Linked DNA regions of Homo sapiens: regions 1 and 3 are each linked to region 2. Evidence: promoter capture Hi-C in 16 types of primary human blood cells and fetal thymus (Javierre and others, 2016). All regions are on one chromosome and are shown on one strand. Each heading gives the region's core, a stretch centred on a gene start or on the middle of the fragment in contact. The rest is flanking DNA. Distances are from core to core; before and after follow the strand shown.

The links. The method cuts DNA at HindIII sites, captures the fragments that hold promoters and counts their contacts. A CHiCAGO score of 5 or more calls a contact.
Region 1: a fragment that was not itself captured here is called in contact with the fragment with the promoter of RNF212 in region 2 in 7 of 17 cell types (naive B cells, total B cells, total CD8 T cells and 4 more); the score reaches 11.0 in naive B cells.
Region 3: a fragment that was not itself captured here is called in contact with the fragment with the promoter of RNF212 in region 2 in 1 of 17 cell types (naive B cells); the score reaches 7.4 in naive B cells.

What each region holds. Positions count from the first base shown.
Region 1 is chr4:1,350,271-1,354,489 of GRCh38, forward strand. UVSSA (UV stimulated scaffold protein A) reads left to right here. Exons shown (of 14, transcript NM_020894.4): 4 at 1,445-1,565; 5 at 2,760-3,143. Among named protein-coding and RNA genes, the nearest start is that of UVSSA, 5.2 kb to the left of the region's middle. RefSeq lists a silencer at 681-849. The HindIII fragment of the contact is 6,115 bases long and covers 1-4,219 here.
Region 2 is chr4:1,111,114-1,115,474 of GRCh38, forward strand. RNF212 (ring finger protein 212) reads right to left here and starts at 2,451. Exons shown (of 10, transcript NM_001131034.4): 1 at 2,243-2,451. The coding sequence starts at 2,351. LOC124900647 (nascent polypeptide-associated complex subunit alpha, muscle-specific form-like) reads left to right here and starts at 2,526. Exons shown (of 3, transcript XM_047416477.1): 1 at 2,526-2,639. LOC105374344 (a long non-coding RNA gene) reads left to right here and starts at 2,526. Exons shown (of 3, transcript NR_134676.1): 1 at 2,526-2,639. It also overlaps the pseudogene TMED11P. The HindIII fragment of the contact is 6,439 bases long and covers 1-4,361 here.
Region 3 is chr4:1,332,383-1,336,977 of GRCh38, forward strand. It overlaps MAEA (macrophage erythroblast attacher, E3 ubiquitin ligase), which reads left to right. Exons shown (of 9, transcript NM_001017405.3): 6 at 375-483; 7 at 4,479-4,595. Among named protein-coding and RNA genes, the nearest start is that of UVSSA, 13 kb to the right of the region's middle. The HindIII fragment of the contact is 1,964 bases long and covers 624-2,587 here.

The DNA of each region.
Region 1 (4,219 bases), core at 1,620-4,119, 240 kb after region 2:
GCCTGGCATGATGAAACCCACCAGGATCTGCCACTGTGGCCTGAACCCAGCCTCATTGCCCAGACCCTACCGTGCCCCTTACCCCACCTGCCACGAAGGCTCAGTCCTCCCCAGTGCAATGACCCAGCCCTGCTGGCTTCCCTGTGTGCCCTTGGAGTGCCCTGTCTCCCAGGGTTCATGCTCAGGGTTTGTTTCAGACTCCTGGGTCCAGTCAGCAGCCTCTGCCTGCTAATGGAACAAGCACACTGCTCTCCTACCTGTGAGGTACTTGGGGTGAGAAGTCTCGTCACCTCTTTTAAGTTAGCAGACGTGCTGGCTTTCCCGGGCTCAGACAGCAGAGAGACGTGCATTGTGTTTTGTTGTAATGCACTGTGAACACCTGGGTGTGAGGGTGCACACCCACAGTCCCACTGACTCTGGAAGCCGAGGCTGGTGGATCACCTGGTCCTGGGAGTTTGAGTCCAGCCTTGGTAACACAGCAAGACCGTTGTCTCTTAAAAAAAAAAAAAAAAACTACTGTGAACTTACAGACGCATAGGGCTCTTGGCCACGCATGGGTGCTGTCTTTTGTTAGGCCTACTTGAGCTTTATCTTCCTCACATTCTGTATAGATAGCTCTAGTTTTTGTTGTTGTTGTTGATGATGTTGTTTTTGAGACAGGGTCTTGGTTTGTCACCCAGGCTAGAGTGCAGTGGCGCGATCTCGGCTCACTGCAACCTCCGCCTCCCTGGTCCAAGTGATCCTCCTGCCTCAGCCTCCCAAGTAGCTGGGACTACAGGCACACGCCACCACACCTGGCTATTTTTTGTTTTTAAGATGGAGTATTGCTTTGTTGCCCAGGTTGGAGTGCAGTGGTGCGATCTCAGCTCACTGCAAGCTCCACCTCCCGGGTTCACGCCATTCTCCTGCCTCAGCCTCCCAAGTAGCTGGGACTACAAGCACCCCCCACCACGCCCGGCTAATTTTTGTATTTTTAGTAGAGATGGGATTTCACCGTGTTAGCCAGGATGGTCTCAATCTCCTGACCTTGTGACCCACCTGCTTCGGCCTCCCAAAGTGCTGGGGTGACAGGCATGAGCCACTGTGCTGGGCCAGCCCTAGTCTTTATTTTCTTTCTTTTTTTTTTTTTCTTTGAGACAGAGTCTCGCTCTGTCGCCCAGGCTGGAGTGCAGTGGTGCGATCTTGGCTCACTGCAAGCTCCGCCTCCCGGGTTCACACCATTCTCCTGCCTCAATCTCCCAAGTAGCTGGGACTACAGGCGCCCGCCACCTCGCCTGGCTAATTTTTTTTTTGTATTTTTAGTAGAGATGGGGTTTCACCGTGTTAGCCAGGATGGTCTCGATCTCCTGACCTCGTGATCTGCCTGCCTCAGCCTCCCAAAGTGCTGGGATTACAGGCGTGAGCCACCGCGCCTGTCCCCTAGTCTTTATTTTCAATTGCTCAGGTGGATTTTCAAGACACGAATGCTCGGAGTCTGGCAGAAAGGAAGAGAGAAGAGGAGAAGCAGAAGCACTTGGATAAAATTTATCAAGAAAGAGCCAGCCAGGCGGAGAGGGAGATGCAAGGCAAGTGTCCAGGACGGAGGGAGGGGCCCACGCCTCTGAGGGTTGCCCGTGGTCCAGCAGTTCATCCTCCTGGTCCCAGGGCCCCAGCCGCAAGGAACCCAGGTTTTGAGACAGGCTAGGTGGAGAGGATTCAGGTCGGGCCGGAAGGCGTTCTTAGCCGTAGGCCTCCCAGGCTGTCCATGCCTCTCCCGCGCCCTCTGGTGGTCACATTCATCCACGCCCGTTCGCTGCGCGGACCTCTGGGCAGAGATGCCAGGCACAGGTGTGCCTGTGGGCAGTGGTCTGAGCCCCAGCCTGGCTGAAGGCCCTGCCACCTGTTTATTTTGTGGCTGTCTTGCCCTTGCCAGCCCCTTCCCCAAAACTTCACTGTTTGCTTCTCGGCAGTCAGCCTTTCTTGTGAGGGGCACCACGAGAGTGTGAGGAGGGGGTGCCACGGCCCTCCTGAGACACCTCCTGATGTGGGCGGAGGCACGGCCCTGTGTCTTCAGACTACATGTACCCCAGATCCTTCTCCTGACAGACTGTGGTCCCAGGTGTGGGACCTGCCACAGGCCACTGGAAACGCAGGCCTCAGGGCAGCTCACAAGGCAGGCAGCTGGGTGCCCAGACAATGAGGAGGCTGCCAGGAGGAAAGCTGCTCCGGCCCGGGAGGTGTGGCATGAACGAGGCTGTTTTGTTGCCCTAGGGAAGAGGTGCAGCCGTGTCCTGGGAAGTGCAGGTGGGCTGACCTCCCCTGCGCACTCGTGCTTGCTACCCAGAGGTACACAGAGATTGCCTTGCAGGCCCAGCTGCTGAGCTGGGTGCTCTAGTAAGCGGTTAAAAAGTGCAGCACACGACTGGGCGCGGTGACTCATGCCTGTCATCCCGGCACTTTGGGAGGCCAGGGCAGGCGGATCGCCTGAGTCCAGGAGTTTAAAGCCAGCCTGGGCAACATAGCAGGACCCTGTTTCTACAGAAAAGTTAGTTGAGCATGGCATCACGTGTCTGTAGTCCCAGCTAATCAGGAGGCTGAGGCGGCTGCACTACCTGAGCCTGGAAGGTCGAGGCTGGGGTGAGCTGTGATTGCACCACTGCATTCCACCTGGTGCTGAAAAGTGACACCCTGCGGGGAGTGGGCCTCTGAGTGTGGTTTTGAGTGGGCTGGTGCTTTTGCTCCACATAGCGCAGCAAACAGGTGTCTTGATCTTCCGGCAGAAATGTCTGGAGAAATTGAATCCTGCTTGACGGAGGTAGAGAGCTGCTTTAGGCTGCTGGTGCCTTTTGACTTTGACCCGAACCCGGAGACGGAATCCCTTGGCATGGCTTCTGGCATGTCCGATGCCCTTCGCTCCTCCTGCGCGGGCCAGGTGGGCCCCTGCCGGTCTGGCACCCCTGACCCCCGGGACGGGGAGCAGCCCTGCTGCAGTAGAGACCTGCCTGCCTCTGCAGGCCACCCCAGAGCGGGCGGCGGGGCACAGCCATCCCAGACAGCCACAGGTGACCCCTCAGATGAGGACGAGGACAGCGACCTCGAGGAGTTTGTGCGGAGCCACGGGCTGGGCTCGCACAAGTACACGCTGGATGTGGAGCTCTGCTCAGGTAACTGCCTTCGCGGGGTCTCTGTGGCGCCACCCTGCCCCGGCTCCCGGGTAGGCTCCTCCCTCACTGGCACCCGGCCCAGGAGCCTGGGGATGCAGGGGCCTCCCCTGGGGAGCTAGGTCAGGGGTCACCACCAGGTTTTTCCTTTCTGTGTGGCCTCTGCACTGGGCTCCCCCCACCCATGCCAGGCCTCTGTGGCCACAGGGACACTTCTAAGAGCTCATGGCAGCCCCCACCTCAGTGAGGCTGTGGGCAGAGTAAGGACCCACAGGATTGGGGTGAGGTGGGGTCGTGAGGCTGTTGCGGTCCTCAAAGGATGAGGGAGCACAGGCCTGACCTCCAAGTGACTGGATCCCTGGGCAGGCTGTGTGGGCATCCCGTCAGCTCACAGGCCTGTCAGGGTCCCGTGTCGCCATGAGGGGTCAGGTAGCACCGGCCCTTGCTGGGAGGAAAATGTGTTCCAGAAATGGCCACGGGCAGCCTTGGCACTGCAGCCTGGGTGGGTGAGGATTGCAGAGACATAGCCGCCCCCGCCCCCCAGCCCCAGCTTCCTCCCAAGCCCCCTGCTGCCCCCCTGGGGTGTGAGTGGAGGCTGGGGCCCTTTGCGTATGTGTGTGGCTTCAAATCGCTCTCTTTGAGGAACCTTCTTCTTTGGAAGCAGGCACAGCAGGTGTCCCTTCACCAGGGCCAGGAGGCAGCCGGGCTGGGAAGCTGCTGGGAGAACTGATCCTCGGGTCTCAGCTGCCCAGAGGTGCCTCAGCAGTGAGGCTGCAGGCCTGTGCGGGGTGGACACCGCTGCTGCAAGCCTGGGCTGTCCTCGCCTGTATAGAGCTCTGCCCTGCGCCGGACACTGAGGGTGCCACAGCGGGGGAAGCCACGGCAGGGCAGAACTGGAGTTGGGGTGTCCAGCGGAGGAGAGGCCGGGGGGGTGGGGGCTGGTGAGGCTGGGCTGGAGGGGCGCCATCCTGTGGCGTGGGCTGTGGAGGGGAAGGTTCTGTGCCCGGCGTGTGGGGGCGGTGAGTAGAAGAGGCTGTGGGTGGTCTCGCCCTCCAGATGGGATGGCTGCAGCCAAGGAG
Region 2 (4,361 bases), core at 1,201-3,700:
CCTCACTGGTCCAATGGACACTTTCAAACACCAATTCCTTGACTTCACTGGGATGTCCAGTTCATCAACATCTCTTTTTTACCTGACATCTTCTTTACCTCCTTCAACAAATGCTCTTTCCAACAAGATAGTCTCTTCTAGTTTCCTTCACCTTTGGGGCTCTCCACACTCCAATATCTAGGATTATAGGATTATTATCCCGTATTAATCGCTCCCCAAATGTGTTCCTGGCTGTCTTGAGTTCCAGACCCACATGTGCAACTGCCTCTTGTCTTCCCCTGGATGGCTCTCACAGGATACAGGCCGTGTCCAGACATGAGCTCAGGGGCCCTGCACCCCACCCTGCTGTGCCCCACCCTGCTGGGTTCCCTCCCGCTGGGCTCCTCTCCAGTGTTTTGTCTAGCAGTGAAACCCTGTCCAGTTCTCTAGCCCTTGTCTCCGACTCATGTCTGCTGAATCTACCTAACTTCTCCTGAACCTATCACTTCTCCCCATCACCTCTCATGTGCTCAGCTGCAGTCTCTCCCACAGTTTCTATCTCCCTCCAATCTACTTTTCACCTCGCTGCCCGAGACACTTTTGTTTTTAAATACACACCTGAAATCAACAACTCCACTCCCAGGTTACACACCCAACAGAAATGTGTACCTAAGATCACCGAAGACAGGAGCAAGAAGATTCACAGTAGCATTATTTCTGCAGCCAAATCTGCAAACAACCCAAAGGGCCATGGACAGTGGAAACGATGAGTAACTTGGGGTGTATCCATACAATGGAACACCACACAACAATGAAAGTAGATGAACTACAGTTACATACAAATACAATGATAAACTTTGCTAATCCCACATTTCGGGAGGCCAAGGCCGGTGATTGTTAGAGGACAGGAATTGGAGACCATCCTGGGCAACAAAGGGACCCCATCTCTGTGAAAAATTAAAAAAATCAGGGGTGCGTGGCTGCACATGCCTGTAGCCCCGCTACCCTGGAGGCTGAGGTAGGAGAATCACTTGAGCCTGGGAGGCGGAGGCTGCAGTAAACCGAGATCCCGCCACCGAACTCCAGCCTGGGCGACAAAGCTGAGCTCTGCCTTGAAAGAGGCAAAGAGAAGGAAGGGAGAAAAAGGAAGAAAGATGGGGAGCCACAGAAAGCGGCTTTGCTGTAGGGCTGGTTGTAGGGCTGCATTCACTAAGGCTCCATGGGTCTAAGGCCAACTCCGAGGATGGAGGTCAGCACAGCTGGCGTCCCCTGGGGCTGGAGGGCTGTGAGCCACCGGCACCCAGCTGGCTGCTTTCACGGGGAAGTTCGCTTGGTAAAAGCTCACTGTGTTTTTGCTTTTGTTCTTGCATAAACATCAGTTCAACACAAAATTTTCACAGAAAGAAAAACGCCTCCCTGACAATGCGACTGTCCACTTGACACCAGGGCCCCGCGCTGCCCATGGAATAGGGCCAGAGTCCTCCACTGGCGTTAAGGTTGCCGCCTGCCCGCTTCTCCCCCAGGTCCTCCAGGCGGACCCGCAGCCTGCAAGCCAGAGCCCCCGACTGACAGGACTCGTGGCCCGACCCCTGTGTCCCCCTCATCTTGCATCCCGCTCCCCCCGGCGGCCCCTCCCCTCCACGGCCCCTTCCTGCCTGCGGACCCTCCCCCACGCCCTCCTCCCCTGGCGTCTCCCCTCCCCCCATCTCCTCGGTATCCCCCTTCCCCCCCAAGCCTTGACCCCCCACATCCCCCACCTTGCCCCCCTCCTCTGGCGTCCCCTTCCTCCCTGCAGCCCCCCACCACCTCCGGCGTCCCCTCTTTCCCCACCCTCCCGCAGCCCCTCACTCCCCCGCTCCCTCCCCACCGCTTCTCCAGTGTCCCCCTCTCCCCACGGGCCCCTCATCACGCCCGCGGCCCCCACTCCCCGGTGGCCCCTCCTCCGAATACCCCTACCTCCGCGGCCTCTCACCCCCCCATGCCCCCCCCGCTCCATGCGCCGTTTCTCCCCCTCGGCCCCCCACGCGCCCCCGCGGCCCCTCCACCCCAGGTCCCCCTCCCCTCAGAGTTCCCCTGCTCCTCGCGGCCTCTCCCCTGGCATCCCCCTCCCCCTGCCCCCTCCCCCTTCTCCACGCGCCCTCTCTCCTCCGCAGCCCCCCACGTGCCCCCATGGCCCTCCCACCCAAGTCCCCCATCCCCCGGAGTTCCCTGACCCCCTTGCCGCTCCCCTCCCCTCTCCAGCCTGCGTTCGGGAAGCCCTGACCTTTGCCGAGGCAGGCGTCGCAGTACACGTGCCCGCAGTTGGTGAGGCTGAAGCACGACGTCCTGTGGGGCGGCTGGAAGCAGCGATTACAGAACACCCAGTTGGCCATGCCAGGCGGGCGACCGCAGCGGCGAGGCCGGGCCCACGCGAAGCCCACGCAAGGTTGGGACCAGCCTCCCCGCGCAGGGCCCGAAGGCGGGCAGCTCTGCGCCTGCGCAAAGTCGACGGCAGCCCTGCGCCCGCGCACTGGAGCTCGCGCCCTCCCGCCAACCTCGCGGGTTCTCCCGCAGCACCTGGGAGGGCGCGTGTGACTCGTCTCCCAGGTCGTTTGGGCTGGAGTAGGCGGAGGAACGCACCGCGAGCACCAACGTCCCGCCCCTGTCTTGGCGGTCCTCAGGTGTTTTGTGGAAGCCGGGCCTGGGTGGCGGGCGCGGGGAATGGCGGCTGCGCTGAGGAGGCGTCGCGGCGCGACAGCAGTGGGGGAGGGGGAGGGGGAGCGCCGAGGGCGGGGGATGCGGGCCAGGCCCACCTTGAGGGCCGGGAGCTGGGCCGGAGGCCAGGGCGGCCAGGGTAGTGCGCTGGGCGAGGCAGGGGAGGAGTAGGGGAGAGTGGGCGTGGGGGCCCTGGGGGCCCGGGGAGCGGGATAGGAGGGAGGGAGGGATAAGTGGGTGTGGGAGTTGGGGTGGGAGCGGGAGTGGGGATGTGGGAGTTGGGGTGGGTGTGGGGGCGTGAGGCGGTGGGGGTGGGGTGTGATGAGGCGGTGGGGGTGGGGGGGGCAGTTGGGGGTGGGGGCCAGGCCGCGCTGCACGCTTTGGGACTAGTGTCCAGGTGGCCGCTGGCGCAGAGACCTCAGCACGGGAGGCCTGAGCCTGCTTCCCTCTGAAACGGAAGGCGTAGCTCGGGAAGGACCTCTGCTGCTTCCAGGTTCCAGCATGGGGAAGTGACTTTTTATAAAATTGTCCTCTGCGTGGTTTTGAGAGTTTCCACCCGCTGGGACGCTGCAAAGCTCGGATCGAGAGGCTCAGGCAAGTGCTTGTGCCGGGAGAGCGCAGGGTGAGCGCTCCCGGTAGCTACGGGCCAAGTGACCCCTGCGCCCCGAAAGATGTGAGTAAAATACAGCTGTTTCCAGGGCCTCGTATGAAAACCTTCTTAGTAATTTTATATTGATTACATGTTAACATGATATTTTTGATATATTAGGTTAAATATATATCAGTAGCGTTGATTTTACCCTTTCAAAAAATCCTTTTCAATGTGGAGACTAGAAAACTTAGAATTACGTATGGGCTGGGTGCGGTAGCTCACGCCTGTAATCCCAGCTACTCCGGAGGCTGAGGCAGGAGAATCGCTTGAACGAGGCGGAGGTTGCAGTGAGCCGAAATCACACCACTGCACTCCAGCCTGGGCAACAGAGTGAGACTTCGTCTCAACAACAACAACAGCAAATTAGAATTATGTATGTAGCCCACTTTTATTTCTGTTAGACAGTGCTGATCTCTACCAAGTTTAAAATAGCAAGACCAGCAACGTGGCAAAACCCCGTCTCTACAAAAAATACAAAAATTAGCTGGGTGTGGTGGTGGGCCCCTGGGGTCCCAGCTACTCGGGAGGCTGAGGTGGGAGGATTGCTTGGGCCCTGGAGATCGAGCCTGTGGTGAGCCTGACGGCACCTGTGCAGCAGAGCGAGACTCAGTCTCAAAAATAAGTTTAAGAATAGGATGAGGTGCCTAATCTATCAAATTCAGAAGCTGCATTATAAAAGCATTCTCTCAATGTTATAATGATATAACGTTAATCTCAATCTCTGGTATCTTTGAAATCATAAAAATAATACACATATATGCAGGTATTTTGATTTATTAACTCAAACATTATGCAGATTATTTGTCCTTATTGATAATATTTTAAACAATCTTCTTAGCTATAAAGAAGTCTTTCAGGTACTTCATTTGGAAAATTCCGACTGAGATAAAGATTAATATTTGTGCAAAAGCCCACCATAAAACATTGCTATTTGTATCTTCACTGGTCGTTCGAAAATTTTCTTCACGGTCCTATGCGGAAAAGAAGTAGGTTTAGTGTCATAAAGTACTTAACTCACGATTTTGAGGGGAGGGTT
Region 3 (4,595 bases), core at 356-2,855, 220 kb after region 2:
AGACTCTGACATAAAAGCTGTTAGCTCAGATTTTTCAACTTAAAAATGCAGGCCGGGTGCAGCGGCTCATGCCTATAATCCCAGCACTTTGGGAGGCCGGGGCAGGAAGATGGCTTGAGCCCAGGAGTTGGAGACCAGCCTGGGCAACACAGCGAGAATCTGTCTCTAACAAGATGTTTTTTACATTAGCTAGGTGTGGTGCTGCACATCTGCGGTCTCAGCTTCTCGGGAAGATCGCCTGAGCCTGAGAGTTCGAGGCTACAGTGAGCTGTGACTGTGCCACTGCACTGCAGCCTGGGTGACAGAGTGAAACCCTGTCTCTAAAAGTTAAAATTAAAACGCAAACTTAAATGTGCCAAAATGTTGTTTTTTAGACATGCAAGAAAGCACTTCAGCCAAGCAGAAGGGAGCCAGCTGGACGAGGTGCGCCAGGCCATGGGCATGCTGGCCTTCCCGCCCGACACGCACATCTCCCCGTACAAGGTAGGGCGTGCGTCCCTGGGGTCGGTGTCATGCTGGGGTGGGGATCCAGGGTGTGTCTCTGGTCTGTAGCTGCTTCCACACGTGGGGCGGGACGTGAGGGCCCCATCCCAGCCACACAGCCTGTCCAGCCTGCCAAGACAAGCTTTTCTTGTTTGACTCCCATTTTGCTCATAAGAAATTTGAATCAGGGCTGTGTGTGGTGGCTCACCCCTGGAATCCCAGCACTTTGGGAGGCTGAGGTGGGAGGACTGCTTGAGCCCAGGGGTTTGAGAACAGCCTGGGGAACATAGTGAGACCCCACCTCTACAAAAAAAATTTTTTTGAAAATTAGCTGGGCATAGTAGCACCTGCCTATAGTCCAGCTACCCAGGAGGCTGAGGTGGGAGGATCACTTGAGCCCATAAGGTTGAGGCTGCAGTGAGCCAAGATTGTGCCACTGCACTCCAGCTGGGGTGACAGAGCAGGACCTTGTCTCCAAAAAAAAAAAAAGCAGTTGAGAAAGGTTCAGGAAGCCTTTCAGCCTGGAGCGTTCAGCCGGGGCCCAGCTTCCTTGCCTGTCCCCCTGGTTCTCCTTTCTCTACAGCCCCTGAGTCAGGAGTTAGGCTGCACCGTCTTCCGTGGTTCTTTCTCTTGCTGACGCTTTGTATTTTATCTGTAAATATTGGAGCCTCCGACTCTCCGCGGTCACTGGGGTAGGGTTGGGGGTTCTGCCATCACTAACCAGGCACCCTGTGCTCAGACCTGGCCCCAACCCAGCAGCTGGCTGCTCCTGGGTGAGTGGCTCCACTCTGCACCCGTGCCCACCCCTGCACCCACCCCATGCCCACCGTGTGCTCACCCCCTTGCCCACCCCCATGCCCGTGCTCACCTCTGCACCCACCCCATGCCCACCCCCATGCCCACCTGTGCTCACCCCCATGCCCACTCCCGTGCCCATGTGCCCACCCCTGCACCCACCCCATGCCCACCGTGTGCTCACCCCCCTGCCCACCCCCATGCCCGTGCTCACCTCTGCACCCACCCCATGCCCACCCCCATGCCCACCTGTGCTCACCCCCATGCCCACTCCCGTGCCCATGTGCCCACCCCTGCACCCACCCCCATGCCCGTGTGCTCACCCCTGCACCCATCCCATGCCTACCGTGCTCACCCCCATGCCCACCCCATGCCCACCATGTGCTCACCCCTGCACCCACCCCCATGCCCGTGTGCTCACCCCTGCACCCATCCCATGCCTACCGTGCTCACCCCCATGCCCACCCCATGCCCACCATGTGCTCACCCCTGCATCCACCCCCATGCCCACCCCTGTGCTCATCACACTGGGAACAGTTTCAGTTCCTGGAAAAGGGGGAAGCAGATAAAACCTCCTGGAGTTGACAGTTTGTTCTCTGAGCCTGGCACCAGTCTCTGTCAGAGGCCGGGGTGTTTCCCGGCAGCCCCCACCTGCCACCCTGTAGGGACTGCAAAGCCCTGGGCAGTCCCAGACCTGCTGCCTTCTGAAAGCTGCTGGAAGCTCAGCCTGAATTCTCCTGGTTCTCAGGCGTTTGGGGCATCTCATAATAAATCATCATTAGGTCACGAGGATCTTCAGGGGTGGGGTCTGAGCTTCCCAGACTGTGAGTTGGCACCTTGTTTCTCTCGCTTGCTCTGGAGAGGATTTTGTTAGAAATGCAGGAAAGGCTGACCCATACAGGGGGCTGAGACTTCGGGCCTAGGCCGGGTGGAGCATGCACCTCTCACCGGACGCAGCCCTGCAGTGTGGTAAAGAGGGAGGCAGGCAGTGCCAGCCCCAAGGCTCATCTGTTGCCAGATTCAGGGGGCACAACCGTGTCTCGTGGCAGGAAAATGGGCCCCGTTGCCATGGGTCAGGCAAGAAACAGAAGGAAGCATTTTGTTCAGAGAATGGCAGAAGCCACCAGAAGCCCAGAGGCAACCAGTCCTGGGGAGTGAGGATGCCAGGAGCTGTTCTTCTCAGTGAGGACCTTCTGGACTGTGGGCTTCCTCCCTTGTAGACTTTGATTTTTAGACAAAAATGAGATTTAAAACAGCCTTTAAAAATGTTGGAGTTAAGTGTGGTGTTTACCCTAAACTGAGACTGAGAAGCTTACAGAGACTGATGGGTGACGTCCCCTGATGACCACCTCCCCTCCCTCCAGGTGTGGCCGTCTCCCCCCAAGCTAGAGACTGAGCGGCCTTTCTGGGTTGATGTGAAGGTTTTTCTCTCCTGTGCTCACACACGCTCTCTCTCTTAAGTCTAAACCTGAGGTTATTTAGGGACAGACATTCATCAGGTTTAATTTTCTGTTCTGTGATGCTTTAACCTAACATGGACCGGTTGTTTTCCATTTCATACATGATTTCTCTGAAGTAAGAGTTTTTACACCTAATGCTCTGAGGTGCACTCTGCACTGAGCTGTCCTTCCAGCTGTGTGAGTCTATTTTTTGTCACAGTGCACAGGTTGCACACATTCCAGATCATTCAAGTTGATTCACAAGTGAGTGTAGCAGAGTTAAGTCAGCACCAGCCCTGTGGCATGTTGAAATCAGAGTTAAGTCAGCACTGGCCCCACAGTGTGTTGAAATCAGAGTTAAGTCAGCACTGGCCCCACAGTGTGTTGAAATCACAGAGTTAAGTCAGCACTGGCCCCATGGCGTGTTGAAACCACAGAGTTAAGTCAGCACTGGCCCCACAGTGTGTTGAAATCACAGAGTTAAGTCAGCACTGGCCCCATGGCGTGTTGAAACCACAGAGTTAAGTCAGCTCTGGCCCCCACAGTGTGTTGAAATCACAGAGTTAAGTCAGCACTGGCCCCATGGCGTGTTGAAACCACAGAGTTAAGTCAGCACTGGCCCCACAGTGTGTTGAAATCACAGAGTTAAGTCAACACCTGCCCTGCAGTGTGTTGAAATCACAGAGTTAAGTCAGCACCTGCCCTGCAGTGTGTTGAAATCACAGAGTTAAGTCAGCACCTGCCCTGCAGTGTGTTGAAATCAGAGTTAAGTCAGCACCTGCCCTGCAGTGTGTTGAAATCACAGAGTTAAGTCAGCACCTGCCCTGCAGTGTGTTGAAATCACAGAGTTAAGTCAGCACCTGCCCTGCAGTGTGTTGAAATCAGAGTTAAGTCAGCACCTGCCCTGCAGTGTGTTGAAATCACAGAGTTAAGTCAGCACCTGCCCTGCAGTGTGTTGAAATCACAGAGTTAAGTCAGCACCTGCCCTGCAGTGTGTTGAAATCAGAGTTAAGTCAGCACTCATCCCGCAGCATGTTGAAATCAGGGAGTTAGATCAGCACTGGCCTTGCAGCATGTTGAAATCAGAGAGTTCCAGCACTCGTCCCGCAGAGTGTTGAAATCAGAGTTAAGTCAGCCCTTGTCCTGCAGGTGTTGAAATCAGAGCGTTAAGTCAGCACTGGCCTCACAGCGTGTTGAAATCAGAGACTTAAGTCAGAACTGGCCCCACAGTATTTTGAAATCAGAGAAGTCAGCACTCCCCCGACAGTGTGTTGAAATCAGAGTTAAGTCAGCACTCACCCCACAGCATGTTGAAATCGGAGTTAAGTCAGCACTCACCCCACAGCATGTTAAAATCAGAGTTAAGTCAGCACTCATCCCACAGTGTGTTGAAATCAGAGTTAAGTCAGCACTTGTCCCGCAGCATGTTGAAATCAGAGTTAAGTTCATACTGGCCTCGCAGTGTGTTGAAATCAGAGAGTTAAGTCAGCACTGACCCTGTAGCATGTTGAAATCAGAGTTAAGTCAGCACTCATCCCGCAGCATGTTGAAATCATAGTTAAGTCAGCACTCATCCCACTGTGTGTATCAGTCAACACTTGAGGGAGTTATGCTTTGTGCTGACCCTTAGTGCAAAGTGTGTGGGTCACTGGGGGATGGCTGTGGGCCGATGGCACCTGCTTCACCATGGTCCACGTTTTTAAGCTGTCCCAGGAGCTTCCCTGGGAGCATCCCCAGGACCCTCTGCTCTCTGTCTTCCAGGACCTTCTGGACCCTGCACGGTGGCGGATGCTGATCCAGCAGTTCCGGTACGACAACTACCGACTACACCAGCTGGGAAACAATTCTGTGTTCACCCTCACCCTGCAGGCTGGCCTC